Linked DNA regions of Homo sapiens: region 2 is linked to region 1. Evidence: promoter capture Hi-C in 16 types of primary human blood cells and fetal thymus (Javierre and others, 2016). All regions are on one chromosome and are shown on one strand. Each heading gives the region's core, a stretch centred on a gene start or on the middle of the fragment in contact. The rest is flanking DNA. Distances are from core to core; before and after follow the strand shown.

Region 1 (2,818 bases), core at 107-2,606:
AAGTGTTTCCCAAAAATGCTTTAGCTGTCAGAAAATATAATTCTGTCTCTAGATACATTATTAAAGAGATCAAAGTCATGTTAGCAGATAATTACACCAACCACTTTTATAAATATTGATTCTAAGACGTGTTTTTAAAGAATCCCTGGAGTCATTTTTTGTTTGTTTTACATAGAACAGGTGAGTTTTAGACCTAATGTTTTGTAGTTTTCTTACAATTCGTTTTCTTCTCTCCCGTTTTACCGATTTGTCCTTAATTGTAAAAACACTCAAAGGCACCCCAAGCCAGCCCGGGGTCCGGGGAGTGGGTCAGTGGTCAGAGGCCTGCAGCCTCCCGCCCAAGACCTACCTCTCAGCGTGTTGCCTTCTTTGACTTTTGGGTCAAATTCTGCAGATAAAATGCGGTCAATTCCAAATTTGAGGTCTTTGCTGGAGGGGGCCGGGGCAGAGCCACTGTGGTGGGGGTTCGGAACCACTCGCGTCCCCGAGGCCGGGGGCTGCAGGGCGCCAGCCCGGGGCGGAGGCGGAGGCTGTTGCTGCTGCGGCTGTTGCTGCTGCTGTTGTTGTTGCGGGTGATGGTGGTGGTAGGCGGCTGAGAGCGGAGACAGCCGCTGCGGGAAGCCAGCCGGGACTTCGGAGGGCGCCACCACTGGGGTGGGTCGAAGCGGGGATCTGGCCGCCGCTTGGAAAGAGGCGTGCGGGTGAACCGAGCCCAAGTGCGCGGTGAGGGCGGCGGCCGAGGCCCCTGCCAGGCCCTCCGGGGCCGCCCCCAGATCCCCCACGCCGGCGTGCAGAATGTCTGCGATGCAGAAGGAGGGCTTTTTGACGGCGGCGGGGTCCAAGGGGAAGGAGCAGCCGCCTGGGCCGGCCGAGGAGCAGTAAGCGGCCGACCAGAGGCTGAAGTTGGAGGCGTAGAAGGGAGCCAGCCCGGCTGCGAACATCCTGCCGGGGTGAGCCGCGCGGCTGCCGCAGTCCAGCCGGACTGGGTGGGTGGGCGCGCGGGGAGGGGCGCGCGAGTCCCGGAGAAGGCGGCGGCAGCCGAGGACGATCCGCTTTCGCTTCTCCGCCCGCACTGAGGAAGAGAGGCCGGGAGCCCTAGCGCCACCGAGGGAGGAGGCGAGGGCCGGATCTCGGCCGGTCACCGCCTCGCTCCCTGGCCTCGCTTTAAAGGCGGCGCGGCGCCCGCACTCCTCGCGGGCTGGATGAGAGCGAGGGGCGCTGGGGCCGCAGGGCGGGCGGGGGAGCCAGGGAGACGGGAGCCGGACACCGCAAGAAAACCCAAATAGCTAAGCCCTAAGAGCTAAATTTAAAACAACAACAATAATAGTCCGTTAGTTAGGGGGGGGGAAAAGTAATAGAAAAAAAAAAAAACTCGTCTCTAAAAACTCCCAAAGTTTTGGCAGGAGCTTTCGAGTCAGGCCCGGGGTAGGACCTCGATCCGAGCGCTCATTGGTCATCCTCGTGACCAATGGGAGCGGGGAGTGGAGGGGAATTAGGAACAAGGGGGCCTGGCCGGACCCTAGCCACGCCCCGGCCACGCCAAAGTTTTTGCTGCGGCCGCGTGGGCTTAGTAGCGCACATCGCAGTGCTTCTTGCTACTCTGCGTAGGGGCCAGGCAGCCGCTCCGGAGGGCTCTGACTCTCTTCTAACTTCTGCAGCTCCGAACCGCCACGGGGCAAGGAGGGTTGATCACAGGAGCTTTCCTGAAGCGCTTGTCACCCGGGGCGAGTTGGGGGCGTGGGGAAGGGACGGTAATCTCACTCTTTAGGGCTCTGCAAAGCCCGCCTCCCGGTGGAGAGCGGAGCGCGCTTTGGCCCCTTTGCTTCCCTTCTCTTGACCTCATTCTGCTTTTATTCCAGGAGTCCGTGTCCTCGGCAAAGCCCCTCATCTTTCCTGGGCCCTTGCCCAAATGTTGCCGCCCTGAGTCCCGGCCCAACTCAGCACCGCGTCCGCCTCGTGCCTCCCAGGAGATCCTCCGGGAAGCGAGGAGGAGGGGCGGCCGCAAATTGGTTTTATTCTGAGCTGTCACACAGTGACAAATTGAACGAGTGACTTTTCAAACAAAATAAGACGGATGGCTCCAAACGTCTCTCTTAGACGCAGCCAAACCTTTCCCCGGAGCCTCAGAGGCTACAAAACAGGCTGCCTCCCGAAACCCGGGAGAGCGGCACGCGCTTCCATCCTTTGCAGGAGGTTGTAGGAAATGTTAGCCTCACCCCTCCACCACATCTCCGGATCACGTGGGGTTCGTTGTTTTGCAAGTGCCCACAAGAGCAGATTTCCGTGGGGTTCAATACTGCTTTCAATTCTGTGACAGCTTCCCCAGGAACCCCTTGGGCCTGGTTGCAGGAGGAGCTGCGTGGTGGTCAACGTCTTCCATTCGTGCCTTGGGTCTTTAGAACGCAGGGTAGTGGTGGTGGAGGTTTTGTGCAACATCGACATATCTATTTTAAGAATTTCTTCTCTTTAAATTATAGTCAGAATGAATTTCCCCACCCCTCTCCCAAACAAACCACAGGCCACCCAGATGAGCTGTTCTTGCACATTTTCAGGAAGAAAATAAAATAATACGAATAATGAAACCACGAAAACTTTTGTTTTCGATTGCCCTAATAAGCATCTCCTAACAGGGATTCTGTGACATTTTTATTTCCCTTCAGCACGAAGGCTCCTCACCAAATAAACCCAGAAAAGCAAGTGAACTTGCCATGCCTATCTCGAGTTCAGGGTTTGGGCTTATAAAATTAATTTCTGGTGTTTTCTCTAGCCCCTTGATGCAGATGCTATCCTTTTAAGCTTTTGACTTTCTCCTGGAAAA
Region 2 (2,818 bases), core at 214-2,713, 1.6 Mb before region 1:
AAGGCCAAACACTCTCACTTAGAGATAAATTGATCAGTGAAATGGATGTGCGGGTTTTGATTCATTCATACCAGGGCTTACTCATTAAGCCAATATGTGCCTCATCTATTGAATTCCTACTATATGCCATACCCTTTAAAAGACATTGTGGATGATCCAAAGAGGAATTAAAAATGGTGATCTCTGTCCACAGGAAGACATGAAAATGCCTAACATTTTTGTAAGCTCTTTGCTTTGCAAATCCTTTCTCACGTGTGATCTGAGAGATGAGTTTTATTATTATCTTAGTTTTTGTCTGGGCACAGCAGCTTATGCTTGTAATCCCATTGTTTTGGGAGGCTGAGGCAGGAGGATTGCTTGAGCCCAGGAGTTCAAAGCTTCAGTGAGCCATGATTGCACCACTGTACTCCAGCCTGGGCAACAGAGCAAGATCCTGCCTGTCTTTCTGAAAAATCAAGAAAAACCTAAACCAAAAATTACCTTAGCTTTTATAGTTGAGGTTAAGTAAACTGCTTAAGTTTGTGCAGGAGTAGAGATTGTCCTAATAAGTGGAAGAGGGGAAAAGGCTGGAGGGAGGAAAGCAAGATTGGGGAAGTCAGAACCAGGGGAGGATAACCTGAGCCCAGGAAAGAGGGCCTTTGGAAGGGAGAGTGGTTGGTCTTCTCAGATGTGGTGGAAGGAAAAAGGATGGGGATAAAGTGGAGGAAATGGGGACATTCATTCTGTGGCCCCCAAATCATGGTGAAATGTGAGATGAGATGGTAAGCTTTATGAGAGAGTGAGAGTTTTAGGGAGGGCAAGGCAGGTTTCACCCCAGCACTGTGGGCAGTGGGAAGGCCTCAGCAGAACCACAGGGAGTCTGGTGGCAGTTAGGTGCTTGGATTCACTAGAAGCTCGGTGACCCTGGAGCAGGGATGGGGGAGCAGCATTCAGGACTGCAAACGGGCACTGGGTTCTTCCCTTTTTCTTGATTATTAGATCCTATGGTGAAGACATTGGGTTTTCTCATTTAAAAAAATTATGTGTTGGTTTGTGCAGTGCATAAACTAAGTACAAAATAATTTTTGTAGACGGTTCAATTTATGGTCTCCTAGCTACCTTTTAAAAACAGGCTCTGGTGATGAGAAGCCCAGAGAGCTGCTTTTTCCTGCTTTTCATCCTAAGTTTTCCTTTATTCATTCCACACTATTTAATGACTTCACACTCAGTGTGAGAGATGATGCTGTGGGAAACATAAAAATGAATCAGACACTGGTTCTGTCCTCAGGAAGCTTTAAGCTATGATTTGAACTTAAAAGGATTAAGTGCTAAAAGAGAGGAAAAAATGAAGTGAGGAGGAGGGGATGGTCACGTCCATGGGGGATAACTGGAAAAGCTTCATGGAGAGTTGGGCCTTGAAAGAGTTTGGGTTTGGCCCTGCAGAGGAAAGTGTGCTCTAGCTGCACTCAGTAGGTGTTTATTGAATGAATGAATAAAAGCTGAATGTGATGTCACCTAGTAAGGTGATCAGAAAGGAGGACCGAGTCCAGATAAAGATAACAACAAGCTTGTAACACATATCATGCCCCAGACACTGTTCAAACACACTTTTATATATTGTTAACTTGATCCTCATGACAGCCCTGTGACACAGGGGCCATGATTTCCAAGTTTACGGATGAGGAGACTGGCCCAGAGAGGATAAGTAACTTGCCCAAACGTTCACAGTTTGTGAGTGGTGAGCAGAGCTTCGACTCTTGGCCACGTTATTGGAAGACTGATGTCAAGAAGTAAGCATCCTTCCTGTACTTTTGTCTGCTATCATCAGCCTGATCCACAGACCTGAATGCACAAGCCCTCACCTCCACTTTGATCTCATTACTGTATGCATCCTCTCTCTGGTTAATGCCTCCCATGCCTATGCTCACTCTCTTTCCCAGGCTGGAGATGGCATTGGGAGGCTGCAGGTGGCACCAGGGACCTCATGGGCAGAATCCCAGGGGAGCACAGGCTATTGCTGGGCAGCTCACTGCAGACTCAGGCAGTGAGTGGTAATTGCAAATAACTACAGCAACGGGTCTTAGTTTAACCTTGCTCATTTCCAGAGTTCCGCGTTTTTGATTTTGTAGACTTTGCAGCATGGTATTAATGCCAAAATAATTTGGATAAATATAAGCCCCGCAAACTCCTTGGCCTATGGTCAAGTTTTTCCTTTTCTGTGGCTAGTTTTTTATATGCACTGATGAATAGGCCAATCTGTGTGCCGATATTAATAAGATTCACCACAGCGATGAAAATGCTTCATCATGCCTCTGCAGGTCAGAACTTGGGGATGGGGTACTGAATCGACAGGAACAACACTGACGTGTGTCAAAGGACTTGTGTCTGGAAAAGGAAAGGGAACCTAAGAGGGTCCCATGTATTTGGTGTATATTATAACAGCTTATGCTGGACCTATGTCAAGGCACAAGGACCTTCTGACATCTAAGACCTGGTAACATCACTCCATCTGGCTTTATGATTGGGCTTTAACAGTGACCACCAACATGAGGACCCACCATATGCCAGGAACAGGGCATGATATTGGAGAGCTACCAATGCCTGAGGCTTGGACCCTGCCTCGGGGGAACCCAGCTTCGCAGAAAAGATAGTTACATAAATGCACGACTCATGCTGCCATGTGCATGGACTGTCCCAGAGGTGGGTATAGGGTGCTCAGGAACACAGATGAGGGGACATGAGGAGGGAGGGAGGGCTGAGATGGCTACAGAGAGGAGCTGACCATTGAAGGATGGTGATATGGTTTGGATATTTGTCCCCTCCAAATCTCATGTTGAAA

What was found. Contacts are between HindIII fragments. The CHiCAGO score rates a contact against its expected background, and 5 or more counts as called.
Region 2: a fragment that was not itself captured here is called in contact with the fragment with the promoter of HLX in region 1 in 3 of 17 cell types (fetal thymus, total B cells and naive B cells); the score reaches 9.7 in fetal thymus.

What each region holds. Positions count from the first base shown.
Region 1 is chr1:220,877,981-220,880,798 of GRCh38, reverse strand. HLX (H2.0 like homeobox) reads right to left here and starts at 1,356. Exons shown (of 4, transcript NM_021958.4): 1 at 350-1,356. The coding sequence starts at 941. It overlaps HLX-AS1 (HLX antisense RNA 1), which reads left to right and starts at 659. Exons shown (of 3, transcript NR_046901.1): 1 at 659-950. RefSeq lists an enhancer at 23-631 and a silencer at 1,750-1,799. The HindIII fragment of the contact is 7,579 bases long and covers 1-2,798 here.
Region 2 is chr1:222,445,789-222,448,606 of GRCh38, reverse strand. No RefSeq gene overlaps it. Among named protein-coding and RNA genes, the nearest start is that of TRT-TGT2-1, 18 kb to the left of the region's middle. The HindIII fragment of the contact is 171 bases long and covers 1,378-1,548 here.